Linked DNA regions of Homo sapiens: regions 2, 3, 4, 5, 6 and 7 are each linked to region 1. The links are contacts of gene promoters, found by promoter capture Hi-C in blood cells and fetal thymus (Javierre and others, 2016). All regions are on one chromosome and are shown on one strand. Each heading gives the region's core, a stretch centred on a gene start or on the middle of the fragment in contact. The rest is flanking DNA. Distances are from core to core; before and after follow the strand shown.

Region 1 (2,626 bases), core at 33-2,532:
TTCACCTCGAGTTTATTTTTGTGTGTAACGCCGGGTAAAAAATTTTTCCTATGTGGATAGTCAATTATTCTGGCACCACAAGTTCATATTTACAAGGCTACTTGTCTATTTAATCATGCTCAAAACCAGCTCGGCCCTTTCATGTCTTTCATCACATCCTTTGTTGCTTACCTCTCACCACACCCTTCTACAGAAGCGTTATTTTCTTGTTAAACCAGACTATTCACTGCATTTACTCTTCTTGCAACATGCTAAAATTGTTCCTGTTGTCTCTACGAGTCACGCTTTCTGCCTTTTTTCCTTACTGAATTTAAACCTCTTGTGAAAAAGACTGTCCAATTTACGTTTTCACCCTTAATACTGAGCATTGATGTAGCAGGTTTTCAAATATTCTTGTTTTATGCTGAATTTCAGTTGGCCCTTATAGATGGAAACTTTCACTGAGTACAAGCTATATATCCATGTATTTAGGAACAATCAACAGTTTTAACGAATAGGAACCAGTCATCTTTTCTGCCCCGGTGGATAGGCTTAGTGGTGGTCGGTGGATGGCGCTGACCGCGGTTGATCAGAGGAAGCTGACGCCGTTTGCAGGCGTGGCCTGGGCGTGCCCGCTTCAAAGTAGACGCCCGGAGTTGGCCCAGTTCTGACCCTAGTGATGCGCCTGTGCGTGTGTTCCTATCGCCGTCCCGTCTTCACTTCCTACAGATGCCGCGACCCCCCAAATAGCAAGTGTGGACATTCACATTCAGGGGCACAGGCTGTCCGTACAGCGAACGTTGTCACCATTCCCGGAGATAGGGCCCCGACCTTCAAGGGGGCGGTGCGGTTGGCGCGCAGTTCTCAGGCGCCTTCTAGAATCCCCTGCCAGCCTCCCCGCTGCCTGGTTACCAAACTCGGCCGGGGACACCCAACCTCCCCTCTCGAGGACCTGGGTTGGCCAGCCCAGCTTTGTACGGGTGACTGAAGTCCACATCGACGTAACAGTTGAAAGGGAAGGACGCGGAGACCACCCGGTACCCGCCCCAGGCGTTTCCAGAGTCTCCGCTTAGGCGGCCCGTGGGGGTCGGGGTCGCGGTCGCGGTCGCGGACCGGGGACAGAGCAATGGGGCGGGCGCGCAGCGCCGGCTGCACTCCCAGAGCCTCCCACCGCCGCCCCACGGCCGCCTAGCGCGCGCCGGGACTGCATTTCCCATAGGCCCACGCTGCGGAGCACCGCCCACCCGAGTCTCACGCGAGTGCGCTGCCGCGAGGTGTCCCTGCCGCAGCCCCCGCCCGCCCGCAGAGCTTTTGAAAGGCGGCGGGAGGCGGCGAGCGCCATGGCCAGTCCGGGCTGCCTGCTGTGCGTGCTGGGCCTGCTACTCTGCGGGGCGGCGAGCCTCGAGCTGTCTAGACCCCACGGCGACACCGCCAAGAAGCCCATCATCGGTAAGGAGGCTGTGCGGGGCCGCAGCAGACGGGGAGGAGCTGGGTGTTGGCGCTGGGCGCCTCCCGCCGCCGCGCTCCAGCTGGCGCGTCCCGCCGGGAAAAACCCCCAGATGTGCTTCGCTTTTGGTGCAAGGAGGAACCCGGGCTGGGCACCATTTAGGTCGTACTGAAATGTACCTGGTTGAGGTACCTCGTTCATTCCTTTAGACTCATATGACTCTTAAAGGTGGGAGGGAGGAGGGTGCACCATGAAGAATCCTGCGGATTTTCTTTTTTTGTACACAGCTAGGAATTTCTACTAAAATAAAACATTTCCTTTTCGCACATAGTTGGGAAGTTTTACTCATTTACATCTACAAATTCTGTACATGCATTGCATTCATCAAAATGTATTGATGGCGTATTTAAAATACCAGTGCATTGTAATAGAAAATCAAGAAATTAAGGTATAACTTGGATTTTGTCATGTTCAGTAGCAGAGGACAACAGTGGCTGATATCCTAATGTGAGTTCTATTTGGTGTTAAAATGCAGCCCACAATTTTTCGTTTCCAACATATTTGTGTTTTAAAGAGGTAGTAAAATCAGTCTGTGTTACCAAAACACACATTTGAGACAGGCCCAAGGAAAGCTACCTAGGAGAAATCATCCTGGGGTTAAAATTTGCCCAAAGAAATTTGTGTGTGGACATTAAGATTAGTTTTATTTTGGCTGTAGGATTATGCCTTTCATACTATTTTTTTCTATGAATATTATCACTGTATTCTGTAACTAAACAGAAAGTAGATGAATGTTTTTTCATATAGGTAGTGCCCAGTTTTCAAATGGGTTGCTTACTAATATTTGGAACTTATTTCATAGCTGTTTAACATGGTGATTTGATTCTCCACGAATTAACTCAAGCTGTAATTAATGTAACAGGTTGCATATTGTGTGTCCAGAGAAGAGAAAAAAAAGCAGAGGGGATTCTTCCCCTTTCCTAGAATCAGGGGTAGCCCTGCGTCAAATATTTAAAAAAGGGACTTTGCTTTTGGTCACTGAGATCAGCACAACATCGTTAACTGAGTACCGACTATGTACACAATCTTGCTCTGGGAAGTGCAAAGGATTGAAAGATGACAAGCCACAAAAGTTGTGAGATGGCCTTAAATTATTGGTGGAATTTTGGTCATATTTTGAGGGACAGGGAGAACAGCTTG
Region 2 (2,626 bases), core at 66-2,565, 1.4 Mb after region 1:
TTCACCATGTTGGCCAGGCTGGTCTCAAACTCCTGGCCTTGTTGTAATCCTCCCACCTCGGCCTCCCAAAGTGCTGAGGTTACAGGCATGAACCACCGTGCCTGGCCTTAGCTGTTTCTTTCTAGTACTTAGTTATGCATTTCTAAATAATTTGTATAATGCTGCAGTTTTCTCCTTAATATCAGAAACCGTTGGCTGACTCTGTTTTATAGATCGGTGAGATTAGCTCGATCATCATACTCTCACAAGCTCTCCGCTGCCTTACTTCCTGGATCTTCCGATATATTTAGGACATAACTATAAATAAGATAGCGATACCTGCTAATGAGAAAACACAAGGCAAGAAGGGGCAAATCAGCAGCTTTTGATAGAGTTGATCACTTCCTGTCCTTCAAACACTCCCTTCACATGGCTTGCTGGATACATTCTCTTGGTCTTTCTCCTGCTCTCTACTGTTTGCTTTTCTCAGGCTCTTTGGATGGATGTTTCTCATCTCCTTGACCATTAATCACCGGAGTGCCCCAGACTTAGTCCTCGGAGCATTTCCCCATATACACGCACTCTCTTAATGATCTCATCTAATCTCATGGCTTTAAATGCCTCTGTATGCCACAGATTGCCAAATTTACTCACAGCCTGGGTCTTTTGCCTGCACTCTAGACTGGTGTGTCCAGCTGTCTACATGTTGTCTGCCTGATAACTTCAATGTGTTGGATGTGTAATAATCACTTCAAACTTAACAAGTCTAAAACCGACTCCTGATCTTTCCCCCTCAAAACACACTTCATCCCCTTAAAATTAGTGTGCCAACTACATGCCAGGAATTGTTCTAGACAAGTGGTTGCAGGTGAGAGCAAGACAGACCAGGTTCCTGTTTCAGGGAACTCACATCCCAGTAGGGAGACCAGCAGTACACACACAGACTGAAATTGTGGTAAGAGTTCTGAGGAAACAAAGCAGGAGAGCATGCCGTAGGCAGAAGGGGTGGTGAATTAGGGAAGAAGGTGTCCCAGGAGGTTAGGGAAACCTAAGCACTCTGAGCAGAGGAACAGTTTGTACAAAAGTCCTGAGACAAGAGAGAAGGGCCCAAGAAGCTGGAGCACCTGAACAAGCCTAGAGTGTGTAAGATACAGTTAGAGAAAGTCAAAGACTAGACCACAGTGGGAGTCTGGACTTTTCTTCATGCTGTGGACACCGTACCCAGCCCATGCACATCTGTGTACCAAACAGAGCCCTTTCTCATTTACACATTGACTGGTTTGCTTCTGGGAGGTTCACTATAATGCATTCTTACAAAGAGAGGGACAGGGAGTCCGAATGGTGGGCATGGCTTGTTGCAGATAAACAGAAACACTTGCAAACCTGCCCCAAATCTGCTGCTCACAGGGCAGTTGCAATTGTGAGCTCCTCATATCTCTGCCTCTCATGCTCCAGACCTCCCATTCTAGTCTTAGCAGCCCGTACCTTCCCCTGCACTGTCGGGTATCCTCGGTGCACAGGTCTGACCTCCAGGGATGCTGATCCTAAAGGGGGTTTGCCAGGGAAGTGTAGAGGCTGGAACCTCTGGAACCTGCAAAGAAAATCATTGCAACGGCTTCTGTTGACTGGTTTGTCACTCTCCCCCCATTTAAAATTAGCACTTTAGATCAGTACCAACCAAAATATGTTTGTAACTAAAGTATTTTATTAAGGGGGAAATGCAGGAATAGACAGAATTAAAAGAAATAATGAATCAATGTCATCACAGATTTATTAAAAATCTATTGGAGCAAATTGTGAGCTGTGGAAATTCCATGTATTTTTTATTCAAATCGATTCATATGATACTGTTATCTGGTAAGGAAAAGGGAAAGGGAAACATTATGTAAACATTACATATCCAGAATATGTAGTAAAAAAATGGAATGGCCTTCACTCATCAGACTTTAGTTTCATAATAACAGAAACTGAAATTTTTTTAAGGCAAAATAGGCCCTCATTTGCAGACATCTGTTACTTGAGTCAAATCAGATTATTTTTATGTTTTAGATAAAATTGCGATATCAGTTTCTCCCCACTGGATGTCATCTTTTCCCACATATTCCATAGCCCATGGTCACAAAATGTGTGAACTACAAAATAATCCAATACAAAAATGGCTTGTTAAATGTCAAATTCAAACAGTCATTCGTGTTCATCCATTTATTGAGTACATAGTGAGTACTTATGATGTCCAGGCTCTGTTTTAGGCACTGGGCCCAAAACAGTCAATAAAACAGTTGCAGCTCTCATTGTACTTGCTTTTTAGTGTGTATAGGGGAGAGAGTGGGGCTGGATATGTAGTTTTAAAAAATTAAAATATAAGAGGCAGTGTGAAGTGTGAAAAGGAATATAAGACAGGAAAGGAAAACAGAATGAGCAGGAGGTGTTGCTGTGTAATAGGCCTCTTGGATGGTGACATTTAAGCAGAGATTTGAAGAGGCAAGGGCAGGAGTTGCACCGGCGTCTGGGAGAAGAGTTCCGAGACTTGGGGAGCATTCTCATGGTCCTCAGGGCATGTGTGCTTAGCATGTTTGAGGCCTAACAAGGAGGCGATTGCTGGTAAAGAAGGTATGAGGGGAGAGTGCAGGAGTGCATGAGACCAGAG
Region 3 (2,626 bases), core at 56-2,555, 1.4 Mb after region 1:
GCACTGCCAAGTCAGATCTGCATTTTGAAAAGATTGATCGGTCTGGCATGCAACAAACAGACTGGAGAGACAAGAGTCAATACAGGGAGAACAGTTAAGTTAGCTGTAATCATCCAAATTGGGTCTTTCCGTGCATCACATCTCTCTCTGTCTGAAGGAACCAAAGGAGATGAGTTTCAAGAAAGGGATGTTCAGTGGTGCCCTGCGCTACTGAGAACCATGTGAGATGAGTGCTGAAAACCTGCCCTGATCTGGCGCTGCAGTGGCCTCAACGGGTGACTTTAGCTGGAACTGTTTCAGTGGACGGATAGGACAGATATGATAGTTTAAACCAAGGGTGGTGGCAATGATGGAGGAGGGAAGTGGGCAAAGTTGAGAAATGCTTAGAAGGTAAAATTGGCAGGTCTTCATGCATGGGTGTAGCTGGGGGGAGACAACAAGGTGCCAAGAGCCACATACACTCTTCTGCTTCTGCAGCCTGGTGACAGGGGGTGCTCTTTTCCTAACGTGGGAGAGACTGGAGTCAAGCACGGGGCAGGGGCTCATGAGTCCAGTTCTTTACATGATGATAGTGAGATTTCTTTGAGGCATCTGAGAGGAGAGATCAAATGAGCCATTTGGTGGTGTTTGACTCTCAGAAGAGAAGTCTACTTCGTGATTGTGAGTGTGGGAACCATCAGAGTAGTTACGTGGTCATCAGGACCAAGCTCTGAGATCCCTTAAGGAGAGCAGATTGAGGGAGACATGAGGTGGTTCTATGGCTGGACTTTGAAGAAAGCCAGCATTTAAGGACGGCTAAGAAAAAGATGAAGTGAAAAAGAAGATTGAGTGGGAGAAACGAAAAACCAAAGGGGAGAGTATGGTCACCCTGAAGTCCAGGGGCAACAGTGTTTGGAGAAGAATGGTGTTGCTAAAAATATAGCGAGGGCTGGCGAGTGTCCATCATATCAAATGAGGCACTGGAGGGGGTCTCAGCAGGAGCCTTTTCAGGGATGGGGTCAGGGTCTGAAGACAGGCGGGAGTGAGTTGAGGGGAGAGGAAGAGATGAGCCATGAGATGTAAATGACTGAAGAAATTAGATTGTTCAATGGAAGAAAGAGAGGGTGACGAGAAGCAAGCTTAAGAAAGAGTGGTATTGCATTTTTAAGTTCTTAGAAGCTTGAGCATGTTTAAATGCTGACACTGCTCAGGGCAACAGAGTGAGCACACATTCACTGCTCCTTCATCTTTCAAATGCCCCAAAAGGACAAAACGACCTATTAAACATTGTTCCCTGCTGTACCCCAATACTGAGAGTGTCTGAAAGATAGTAGGTGCTCAATAATTTTTCTTTATTAAATGAATAAGAAAGAATAAACTTACAACCATGCTGGGAAAAAGAAGGATGTTTTCTTGTAGTGTGCCAGAAAATTGGAGGTATTTTGGAAGATCAGGTTGACTGAGGAAGCTTTGAGCCACTGGGCCCTGGAGAGGCCTGTGTGGAGATGAGACTTCCTTGCAGCAGAGCAGAGAAGAAGCACTGAGCCTCATGCCAGCAAATGAGGGAGGCAAGGGCAGCACGCCCTAATTAGGGTGGGGAACGCTTCATTCTCAGGGGCTGGCGGCAGAGGTGTTTGGCCCCAGGTTAGAGGTCTGAGAATTGTTTCCTAAACAAAGCAGGGAATCTGCCCATGAACACCAGGATCCAGTTGATTCCCAGGGTACAGCTTCGGCTAATTCAAAACCTCCACCACAGACATGAAGAAAATTTTAAAAAGGTAGTAAAATTTTAAAAAGGTAGTAAAAAGTGGCTGCCCTGGAATTAGAATCCAGGCCTGTTTTACCCTAGACCAAACTCTTCTCCACCCTACTCTCTAGTCGGCTGTTTCCCAGTGACTGAACCTTGCAGGTTCAAAGATGCATAAGGCATTGTCTCTGCCCTTAAAGCATGTTGTCAGTTTTTGTGTTACAATGAAAGTTACGGGATTTTGTTTCTGTTTTTTTTTTTTTAGCAGTATATGAACCTCTAGAAAATGAAGGGATAGAAATCACAGGTAAGTTTTTTCTGTAAGCACATATTTTCTGCAAGTCAGCTTTCCCTGTATTTTGTTAAAACTCCTACCTGTGGAACAAAGAGTCAGTGTAGAAAAAATGCAAGACATTTTCAAGTCAGTAAGAAAATAATTGAGTATCAAAATTAAAGTTAATATTCTAATATAAATACTCTGCAGAAGACCCAGTTTAAAAAGAGTCAAATTTAGCAATCTGAGTGGACACGAGTTAATTTAGGAATCTGAATGAAGGCGAGTGAATGTAAGATGTGTCACTGGTCAGCAACATGTAATGGATTCTGATTTTATTCTTTATTTTAGAAGTAACTGCTCCCCCTGAGGATAATCCTGTAGAAGATTCACAGGTAATTGTAGAAGGTAAGATAAATTTATGGAAGTGGTTTTACCTTCCATATGAGAATTGTGTTTGTTTATTCAGTTATTTATCGAACATTTCCTACTTGCTGTCTATACAGTGCATAGGAGCTAGGAGTACAAGAGGGAAGAAAACACAGAGTCCTCTTTTCATTGGGGCTGGCATTCCAGTGGCCAAACAGATAATAAATAACGGAATTAAGGATTATGAGAAGTACAAT
Region 4 (2,626 bases), core at 79-2,578, 1.4 Mb after region 1:
CCGGAAGGTAGGTGTGTTGTTTTCATTTACTGTAGAATAATGCCTTGAATTAATAGGTGCTAAATATTTGTTGAACGATTAAATACAACATACAATTTAGTAAGTTTACAACTACTGCATATTTATGGAAAGAAATATATTGATTCTTTCTCATTATGGGCAGCAGTGAATAAAGTAAGCTAATCCTGGGCTTGGGTATTTGTGTCACTCATATTTGCTATGAGTGGTTGATTTAAAGTGCTGATTTCATTTGCATTTCATAGCTTCATCTAATTTTAATTAAAATTGGAGGGGCAATTATATAGTGATTAAATGCAAATGTTTTATAATTTCCAAATTTATCTGATTAACCTAAAGAACTAAAACCAAGGTATGTTTTAAGGGAATTAATGTGTTTTCCAAATCATGTTGTGGCCATTGCTGTGGACTGGCAGTATCTATTCACCATACATAATGACTGGAAGGCGGCTGTGGACACCCTGTTCCTCTTGGCAGCACAGGAATGGAAGTGGGTCCCAGTCCTGATGATTAACACTGAAAAGGGAGACTGCTGGTAGCTTCTGGAAAAAATTTCCTCAAGCCTAAGAAAGAAGCAGAGCAAGAGATGCTCCTTTTGCTTCTGGACATCGCCTTGTCTGAAAAAGAAGCTTGCAGCTGGGGAGCTCTGATTGCCAGCCTGAGGGTGAAGCTTGACCTGCGATGCAGTCAGCCGCCTCCGCACTTCTTGTTTAGTTAGATGATAAATTTCCTTCCTACCCAACCATTATAAGCTGGCAGTTTGGTAACTGCAGCCCCAGGAACATCGAAACCGACACATCTCATGTCATAACCTAATTTTGAATATTTATTTCATTGCTACTTCATTGCCACTTGTACCTCATAATAAATCCATTTTTGAAAACCTTTCCTATGACTGAATTGAGCTTATATGCATTTACTTTTCTTGATTCATTTTCGCTTGCTTTTTCCCTCAAATTTTAGAACTAAAATGAGCTTGGGTGGCAAAAAGTTTTTTGGAAACACTGAAATAAAATCTTGTACGGCAAATTCTTCCATATGGGTTGTTAAAGCAATTATAGTCTAGAATGTGTTTTTGTTAAGTTTCAAAAAGTTTATAGAGGTCTAGAGGAGGAGATACAGTAATATGATCTCAGCTTCTTTGAAGTTTACAATTTTTTTTTGTACTGATTTCATATCTGGAAATAGCTATGACCAGGTATTAACAATTTTATAATACACCTTCCACTTTGGACAGGGTAAAATAATCAATATTTTTTGCTCTGTGCTTTTGCTTTCTCCTGTTTTTCCTATGTTTTGCAATTTCAATTTTAGAGACAAATAAGTTCAAGTTGGTTAGAGAAAGCTGACTCTCAGGGGCATTGTATGTCGGAATGTTGGTATACTAGTAGTATTTGAACACGTAGCATTATGACTTTTCAAATGAAACTTCAAAACTCATTAAGAATGGGGTTTTCAGGCAGTTTAGATCTTTATCGTTTGGTGAGAAAACATTTCATTGCTTGTATAACACACGGAACACAGTTTGAGAGCCTGCTAAAGTGGGGTCAGTGAAGGATGACCCTGTAATTTTTCATTCAGACAGATAGTTTTGAGAGTGAAATAATCTCAGGACAGCAGACATAAACTGGGAGTGTCTCAGGCAAACTAGACTTATGACACTGAAATGGTGGATGCTGGAGCAGAAATACGGATCTCTGGTACATAGGAGTAGAGAAGTACTAATGTGAGTCCCCTTCCCTCTTCTACTCAGCTACTGGAGTGCACCTAAGAAGCCCTGGCCCTGCAGGGAATCTCCACAGCCATTTAGACTTAGCAGAGTAGTCACACCACTGGGTGTATTCAGCCCTTCAACAAGTGTTCATTGAGCAATTGCTATGTGCCAAGTGTTAGCTGAGGTGCTGAGAGTGCAAAGATAAATTACTTGATTCTTGAGATTCTTAAGCTTTTTCCCATTCATTCAGCAGAACTTGGCAATGAATCATTCCATACCTGTTCCATTAACAGTTGAGGGATGTAAAAATGATTATTTAAATGGTAAAAGGGAGGGCAGCCCTAAATTTGAATTTGAAATGTGATGTCTTTTACTAGGCCTTCATCTCTACCCCCTCCTCCCTGAACTTGAACTACAATTAGGACCTGTGTATAATCCCTTTGCAGCCTGTCTTACAGTTAGAGGTAACTTAGGTATAGAACACAACTGTATGTGTTGGTGTCAGGTGTACTAGTGGTGAGTTTTGTGTGGAAATAGTGTTGCAAATGGTAACTAGAGGAAATGTAAGTGATGTGGCAGGGTCCTGTGTATCTGTCTCTGTTTCTTTTAAGATTTGGGAAGAGGAATGTGGGAGTATGTTTTTGTCCATAAAAGAAACATGAAGAGACATAGGAAAAATAATAAAAAAGAAGAGTAATACATCGAAATGAAAATTTTCCAGACCACATTAGTGTGCATACATGAGCTGCACAGAGCTGCTTAAGATTAGAATACTGCCCTTCACATCACCTTGACCTTCCTGCCGCAGGCTGTCCATGCACAGTGACTACTCTTGGTAGGAGATTCTTAATGAGGTCAGGAGGAGTCCAGGATCAGCAAACGGAATCTTTGAAC
Region 5 (2,626 bases), core at 55-2,554, 1.4 Mb after region 1:
ATGGTTTAGGGGGAGATATTTTCTTCTGTGTGTTAACAGAGTTTTTAAGATTCTGCAGAAATGAAATGGGACGGAGAAAAGGATTTGGCTACATTTTTATGTGATTTCATTAAGTTGTTTATGTGCTCTGCCTTTGGAAAGAGGTAATATTCAGGTCATTTTGATGAGTAACTTGGATGGAATATACATATTATACTAAATCTTTAAAAAAATTCAGGAGTTTATTTCCTGCACTACTTCAAAGTTAGTGTTGCATCTAAACAATCTTTTCTGTTTTCAGAAATATTTTGTGTGACGTGTTTTGAGAATTTAACTGGAAACTGTTTTTGAAATGATCTATCATTGTACATAATCCCAAATTATTGGAGAAATAATTGTGAGAATAAGTGTTCAGTAAAATGTTTTCTTCTTATGATATCTTACATTTATTTCTAAACAGAGACAAAGCATGGAGGACACAAGAATGGGAGGAAAGGCGGACTCTCAGGAACTTCATTCTTCACGTGGTTTATGGTGATTGCATTGCTGGGCGTCTGGACATCTGTAGCTGTCGTTTGGTTTGATCTTGTTGACTATGAGGAAGTTCTAGGTAAGAATTTTGATATCCTTATGTGAATTTGTAAGAGAGTAAGTGACATCTCTTAGGAGTCTTGAATATTTGTTATCATCTTTCTGGTACTGGTAATTTCTATAGCCTTTCAGTGGTTCTCAATAGAGTGAGGCTGAAAGGGGATATGAAGAAGGTTACCTTGGAGTATTGTCTTTTGAACTCTTTAAATGTGACCTGTAGGTTTTTGAAAAAAGGCTTTATATTGTATGTCTGTCACACAGGGAGAAGTTTTATCAAACAGTACTCATTCTCACTATATGCAGTACTTTTTGATTTCTATTCAATTTTGTTATATTATAAATTTTAAAAATACTTGATCATGAGCCATTACATTTATTTAAGGACTTGCTAATGGATCATAACCACACAATATGCAAAACTCTTCCTTAGAGAGGGTTTTCAAAGTACACCCTTCTGTGTCTCTGTTGGGATGGGATGAGTACGTGTGCACACATATAGGTACTGGATGGGTGTGCTGAGATAGGCGTTTGTAGATATTATTGTGTGTGTGTAGGTGTGATCTGTGTGCTGTTCTGAGGAAGTTGCTGTGGTCCTTCTGATAGTGTCCTTTCTCCACCTTTTTCCTTTTCTGTAATCACTGAAGTTTTTCATGATTTTTTACATTAATGATTCTTTGTTATTTTTGGAGTCACATTCTCCTTCACTTCCCCAAAAATCTTTTTTTAAACTGAAATAAAATTCAATATTATATATATTTGAATGTGTACAATTCAGTTTTTTTTTACTATATTCATCATTTTATATACCCATCAGCATTATCTAGTTCCAGATTATTTTTGTTACCCCCTTCCCCTAAATACCCAAACTCTTCCTCTTTCCCTCTCCTGGGAAACACTAATCTACTTTCTGTGTCTGTGCTTTTGTTTATTCTGGGCATTTCATGTAATGGAACCATACATTATATGATCTTTTGTATCTGCCTTTTTGCACTTAGCATAATGTTTTTAAAGTTCAGTACTTCATTTTATGGCTGCATAATATTCCATCATATGGGCACACCACATTTTGGTTATCTGTTTATCAGTGATGGACATTTGGGTTGTTTCCACTTTTTGGCTGTTGTGAATAATGGTCCTCCTCTTTAGTAATCCAGTGAAAGATGTGGACCTGTCACTGGAAAAAATGCACACTTGTGTCTATGTACAATGTTGCATGGGTGATATCCCCTTGCATTGGACTTCCTGTGCTTCTGCTTTACTTGTCAAATTATAGACATATTTTTGGGGAGAAAGGGCAAACAAATTTTTGGCTGTAGGAATAACAAAATATGCTTATTTGTAATCTGTCTTTCATTGAAGTTTTTCATTTTCATTACTTTAAAGAAAGTGTCTCTGGATAGATTGACAGACCAACTGAGGGAGAATTTTAGTCTGGAGACAAATTTCTGAGTAGATCTATGCTTTGACTGACTTACAGTGATATGTTGTTAGGGAATGTATCTTAAAAGAGGACACTTTAAGTATTTGTACCTTTAAGCACAAATAACAGTTTTCATGTTTTTACATGCATGCAGCCAAAGCAAAGGACTTCCGTTATAACTTATCAGAGGTGCTTCAAGGTAGGCTATTGGAGTTGCATTTCAAGTCTACGTGTGTTACTCTCTAATGGCTCATCCTTTTTCTACTAATTTAATTATTATCTACATCAGAATATAAGTGATAGGACCAATTTCCCATTATGGGTTTGTCAGAAAGGGTAGTATTTTCTATCTTTTACTGTTTCTTGAATTCTGTACTCTGCATAGCCTTGATTAGTACTTTTTGTTTTCTTAGCAGTTGAAATAACATCCTTATCTCTTCTTTCATCATAATCATTTTAAATGTGTATGTGTTTGCTAAGTCAGACTTCTATATAGCAAGTTAACCATTTTCCTAGGTAGAGCAAGGGCTCTGGGGAGATAAAGATTGATCAGAACTAATCTGAGCCAAAATTTCTGCCTGTTCTTCTGTAATTTTTTAATGTACTTTGTGTTAAAGAAATGATAACAATTGCCAA
Region 6 (2,626 bases), core at 41-2,540, 1.3 Mb after region 1:
ATTCCCAACCTCCAGAACAATGAGCAATAGATAAATCTCTTTTCTGTATAAATTCCTCACTCTGTGTTACTCTGTTGTAGCAACAGAAAATGGACTAATAAAGCCCAAACCACACCATTATGTAATATATTCATGTAACAAACCTGCATGTGTACCACCTGAATCTATAAAAATGTTTTTAAAAAAGAAAGAAAATGGATGAATACACTAACATTGTGCCTAGCACATAGCAGATAGTCAAGAAGTATTTATTGAACTGAGCAGTTTAATGTACATAAAAAGCATCTGCAGACAAGAAAAACAGCAGTATTAACCTATTCACAGCCATAACACTAGACATCCCCAAAACATACACATGGCCCTTCCTTTCTAATCTTCAAAGTTTTTTTTTTTAAATTGAAGAATAATGAGTAGTCTGGGGAAATTTTTGGTTATCCAACAAAGCTACTCATTATTCATCCCTTGTTATCAGATACATAGCTAGACCACATTTCTCAGGCTCCCTTATATTTTAAGTGTGGCCATGTGACGAAGTTCTCACAAGTTGAAGTTATATTTGTCACTTGTGGGCTGCCTCCTCAATATCCTACTTTCCTCCTTTATGTTTGCTGGAATCCAAAGTAATCAAACCTTAACCATGCAGATGATGACAATACTTTAGGGAATTGTGGAGCTCTAAAACAGAAAATGCCTGGATTGTGAAGTGACCACATGGAGCAGAGCTGAATCATGAAGCTAGAGCATCTGCCTTGGAGTTGTTAACATGAGAAAGAAAAAAAAAATCTTTTTTCTTGAAGCCCCTGGATTTTTGGGTCCCTTTGTTACAGCAGTTACCTTATCTTAACTGAACAAAAGTAAAAAGAATTTAAAAATAAGGACAAGCCAGAAGCTGGGAGGTAGGATTTAGATTGAAAATAAAAACAAATAGTAAGTAAGGAAAAAAATGGATTTTAAAATATAAGAAACTACATGGGGAGAAGTGAGTCTGTGTTGGAGCTGAGCAGTAAGGGAGGTTTCACATTTAAAGAAAGATTTTTGAAGCTGTAAAATGTGTAAGAGACAAAGATAAGTAGAGAAAGAGCCTTTTAAAGAATTTGTTACTTTTGATTGCGTTTTCTTTTGACTTATCTTAGACAATACAAATGTTTAATATATTTTAAAATCATTCTTGGCCCCCATGCTGGTATTAATTTAAATGTAATACTAAGTAAATGGACCAGCCCTAGAAATAGTCAAATTAAATCATCTTATACAAATTTTTTTTTTTTTTTTTTTTTTGAGACGGGGTCTTGCTCTGTCGTCTAGGCTGGAGTGCAGTGGTGTGATCTCGGCTCACTGCAACCTCCGCCTCCCGGGTTCAAGCTATTCTCCTGCCTCAGCCTCCCGAGTAGCTGGGATTACAGGCGCCAGCCACCACGCCCAGCTAATTTTTTGTATTTTTAGTAGAGACGAGGTTTCGCCATGTTGCCCAGGCTGGTTTCGAACTCCCGAGCTCAGGCAATCTGCCTGCCTCAGCCTCCCAAAGTGCTGGGATTACAAGCGTGAGCCACCGTGCCTGGCTCATCTTATACATATTTCTAAAAAATTGAATGAATACCGCCTCCCATTAGAATTTAGACTATCAAATTGTTTTTGAACTTTGAATTATTTCGTACTGGCAAAGAAAACTTTCATGCTAATTTTGAGGCAAAGTAAAGTCATACTGGTGTTGAACAAACATGTTTACCAATGTCTCCAGGTGTCCATCAGGCTGGAAAGTAATTTAGAACATGGGAATGGATACTACTGTATTTTTTTCATTGTCATTGATCAGTGTTCTTTTGCTTATTTTGCTTCAAATGTTTTAAAATTTTTCAAACTACCAAAAGTTGAAAAATAGTATGATAAATACCAATATGCCCTTCACCTAGATTCATTATTTGTTAACTTTTTGTTGCTGTTGTGTGCGTGCGCGCGCTCTCTCTCTCTTCTCCTCTCTCAAAGCTATTCTCCTATATTGTCTATGTTTTCTTCTAGATAAATTATGTTTTGCCTTTCCTAATTACATTTAAAAATCTGTCTGGCATAGATTTTTGTGTATAATGTGGTAGGGATCAATATTTATTTTTAAGTAATATACACATATTGCTTAAACATTGGTGCTGGATATCAAGCTATTTGGGGGACTACAAACCCACTCTTTTGTACTCTGCTTTGTGATGTCAGGGTGGGACTCAACAAACCCCGCATCTCCTTTGTCATACTGTGCTCTATGATGTCTCATGAGCAGGAGGCCCTAGAGGGAGACTAGAAGTTTGAGAAGGACCAGGCACATGCTCCTTCCTGTTCACTCTGTTAGGGTCACTCCAGCAAGGAGCTTAGGTACAGCAATGGTCTTGTTTACAATAGTAGTTGTTCTGGTTGCTAGTTTTTTCCATGCTCCCAATGCTAGCCTCATTGCACTCCTTCAGAGGAATCAGCACCAATCCTGTGGTACCCCTTCCTGTGAGGTCTAGGTCCCCACTGTGATGGGCCTTTCCTTCAAGCTCTTAGGTTCTAAGAATCACAAACTCTTCCTTTTGGACTATTAAATCCCAGCAGGGATAGCTGCTTTCTGCACACTATCTCTATTTTCTAACTGTGCCCA
Region 7 (2,626 bases), core at 56-2,555, 1.3 Mb after region 1:
ATAATTGCTGTGTATGAATGGATTAAATACTCACATGAGAGTTTCCCAGATATGGTTAAAAGCCACACAAGTCATCAATACTTATGCTTCAAATCACTTGAGCATATAAGTCATTTACTTGCATTTCAGAATGCACAGTTGTTGAATTGCTCCATCCACTTTATTTGTTTTGAAATTAACTTCTGTGTACTCTCGCATTGCTAATGCCTGTCCGTGACCTTTTAGGCTGATGCTGCCTTAAAAGAACTAGAAAAACTGCCTGCTCACTGCATTAGTCACCAACAGAAGAAAAATTCACCATTTCCAGCCCATCAAGGTTTTTAGATTACTTCAGCTGGACAAAGTCATCACACAAATATATCTTAGTCAAGTACTTACGAGGTTGGAAAAGAATCTTAGGTGAAGGAGAAGTTTCAAGTCTCTCACAGTCACAGATAATAAGAGTTTTAGGATCCTATATCTTCTCTAGCCAGCAGACTCTATGTTGTGTCTCCAGAGGTCACACTTACTGTGGAAGCTCCACCAGAAGCTGTTTGATACTGTGGAGAGAGAGGCATTCTCTTCTGGAAAGGATGCTACTTTGTAAGACATATTATTTGGAATCAGCATTTTTATTGTATCATAGTCTGCTTAAAAAATAGATCACATGTAACACCATATGGAACTAAATGAGAGTTGTTTGAATTGGGTCAGTTCATGGGTTCTGATGCAATGGACAGAGGGCCAGATTTGAAGTAAAGCCTGGATACAAACATAGCTCTTCCATTTATGCACTGGTAACTATAGGTGAGTCCTTCACTTTCTCTGATCCTCTTTCCTCATCAATAAAGTCAGGAATTTAACACAGGGAATTATTAACATGGCCTTCAGAGCTAATGCCTCATAAATTTATTATTTTAAGCATTATGAAATGAAATAGCATTCATAAAAGCAGCACAAACTGCTAAAAAAAAGGTTTGTTTATAACCATTTCATGAATTAATCAATATGAAACTCTCAAAAAGAAACACGTTTACACAATTTGTTTGAATTAATTCTCCATTTTGAAGGTAAAACTGAGTATTTATGGAATCACCCTGTTGATATTTCTTCTAAGATTTTCAAATGGGGTTGAAGAAAACCCAGCTTAAATTTCAAATGGGGTTGAAAAAAACCCAGCTTAAATGGGTAGCCTCCATTGTTCATTTATTTTATTGGGTTTATAAAAGTTGAAGACATGAAGGTAGAATGTTAGAAAGTAAAATCTCAATGTATCTATATTATAGCTGATCACCACTAAATTTTCAGACATCTAAAAAAACCTACTTCCTTCCTATATTACTTGACCACAAACAGTGTAATAAGCCTGATTTAAAGGCCCTTTCCCTCTAAAAGTATTATTTTCAATGTTCACCAAGACTGAGTTTTATGAGTAAAATTTTCTCCCCTCCAATGTCAAAGGAACTCAGTGGTAAGAGTATAAAGTGACTAAACAGTTTTAGCCCTATCCTTCTTATGAAATAGCTTTGTGACCTTAGGCTAATCACGTCACCTCTCTGAGCTTCCAAGTTCTAATTTTCTAACAATGAAGTGCCAGGGAGATGAGAATAAACAACTTCAACGGCCTTTCCATGCCCAAAGACACTGCAGCAGAGCCGTCTATGAATGACAGATGAAATGCCTTAGAGGTTGTTACAGACTGAATGTTTGTATTAGACAAAAATGTATATGCTGAAATCTTAACCCCCAATGTGGGGGCATTAGGAGGGGAGGCCATTAGGAGATTATTACGTCATCTTTGGTATTAGAAACCCGTAACATCATTTTCTTTAGGTCTCTTATATTCACAGAGTGTCCTCAATTTTGTCTTTCATTATCTTATTCATTATTTATTCACTTTTAAAAGTAATATAAAGATATTCTTGTATTTATGCATTTAAACATACATGAATATATAACTAAGCAAACAGATAATAAAATTATTAAGTTTAGCTCTAAAATGCAGTTAACTGTCAGCATGCTAAATTTTAAAATATATAGTATTTGCCTAATGGGATTTTCCATTTTAATAAATTATAATAATTCCTTTAAGAAGAAAACAGACAAAATATATTATCATCTTGTATACTCATTTGTCTTACTCTGTAATTATAGTACTTAGTGTCATCTCAAACATTTATATTAATTACCACCTTTAACTAATCAACTTTTGTTTTCCTGGCCACAAGGAAACTAGAAGCAATATCTACTTAGATTTTTTCCATGAGTACACATTTTATACTGCATTTTAATAAACTTGAGATAAACACATTCAGATATATATATAATTCAAAGGCATTCAAATGCCCTATTAGTCTGTAGTATTTTGTAAAGATTGGAAATGAGTAAAACCCAAAATAATGTTTCTTGAATGATATTTAAACATTTTATTTTTATTTAGAAATAGTTGTGGTATACATATACCTTTTATTAATTAGCTTAATTTTATATTAGTCTAAGGTCTTAAAGCTAACCAAAGATCCAGAAATTACAAAGTTTACCAACACATTAAGCCCTTATGATCTGTTAAATAAGTATTCACAATATTAAATATCTAAAAGACACTCACATTTACAATTTTATTGGACTAAATACAATTTTATATTTC

What was found. Contacts are between HindIII fragments. The CHiCAGO score rates a contact against its expected background, and 5 or more counts as called.
Region 2: a contact is called between a fragment that was not itself captured here and the fragment with the promoter of GGH in region 1, in 1 of 17 cell types (M0 macrophages). The highest score is 5.3, in M0 macrophages.
Region 3: a contact is called between a fragment that was not itself captured here and the fragment with the promoter of GGH in region 1, in 1 of 17 cell types (total B cells). The highest score is 8.0, in total B cells.
Region 4: a fragment that was not itself captured here is called in contact with the fragment with the promoter of GGH in region 1 in 5 of 17 cell types (naive B cells, monocytes, total B cells and 2 more); the score reaches 11.4 in naive B cells.
Region 5: a fragment that was not itself captured here is called in contact with the fragment with the promoter of GGH in region 1 in 4 of 17 cell types (total B cells, monocytes, naive B cells and 1 more); the score reaches 11.5 in total B cells.
Region 6: a fragment that was not itself captured here is called in contact with the fragment with the promoter of GGH in region 1 in 1 of 17 cell types (naive B cells); the score reaches 5.9 in naive B cells.
Region 7: a contact is called between a fragment that was not itself captured here and the fragment with the promoter of GGH in region 1, in 3 of 17 cell types (endothelial precursors, monocytes and total B cells). The highest score is 11.9, in endothelial precursors.

Annotation. Positions count from the first base shown.
Region 1 is chr8:63,037,462-63,040,087 of GRCh38, reverse strand. GGH (gamma-glutamyl hydrolase) reads left to right here and starts at 1,282. Exons shown (of 9, transcript NM_003878.3): 1 at 1,282-1,428. The coding sequence starts at 1,320. RefSeq lists a silencer at 889-1,248. The HindIII fragment of the contact is 10,760 bases long and covers 1-2,626 here.
Region 2 is chr8:61,615,130-61,617,755 of GRCh38, reverse strand. The region is part of intron 14 of ASPH (aspartate beta-hydroxylase); the gene reads left to right. Among named protein-coding and RNA genes, the nearest start is that of ASPH, 98 kb to the left of the region's middle. The HindIII fragment of the contact is 5,854 bases long and covers 1-2,626 here.
Region 3 is chr8:61,637,729-61,640,354 of GRCh38, reverse strand. It overlaps ASPH (aspartate beta-hydroxylase), which reads left to right. Exons shown (of 25, transcript NM_004318.4): 11 at 1,992-2,033; 12 at 2,352-2,408. Among named protein-coding and RNA genes, the nearest start is that of ASPH, 76 kb to the left of the region's middle. The HindIII fragment of the contact is 289 bases long and covers 1,161-1,449 here.
Region 4 is chr8:61,654,408-61,657,033 of GRCh38, reverse strand. All of the region lies in intron 3 of ASPH (aspartate beta-hydroxylase), which reads left to right. Among named protein-coding and RNA genes, the nearest start is that of ASPH, 59 kb to the left of the region's middle. The HindIII fragment of the contact is 1,275 bases long and covers 691-1,965 here.
Region 5 is chr8:61,682,002-61,684,627 of GRCh38, reverse strand. It overlaps ASPH (aspartate beta-hydroxylase), which reads left to right. Exons shown (of 25, transcript NM_004318.4): 2 at 440-589. Among named protein-coding and RNA genes, the nearest start is that of ASPH, 31 kb to the left of the region's middle. The HindIII fragment of the contact is 6,282 bases long and covers 1-2,626 here.
Region 6 is chr8:61,743,383-61,746,008 of GRCh38, reverse strand. No RefSeq gene overlaps it. Among named protein-coding and RNA genes, the nearest start is that of MIR4470, 30 kb to the right of the region's middle. The HindIII fragment of the contact is 9,334 bases long and covers 1-2,626 here.
Region 7 is chr8:61,764,932-61,767,557 of GRCh38, reverse strand. No RefSeq gene overlaps it. Among named protein-coding and RNA genes, the nearest start is that of LINC02842, 19 kb to the left of the region's middle. The HindIII fragment of the contact is 4,158 bases long and covers 1-2,626 here.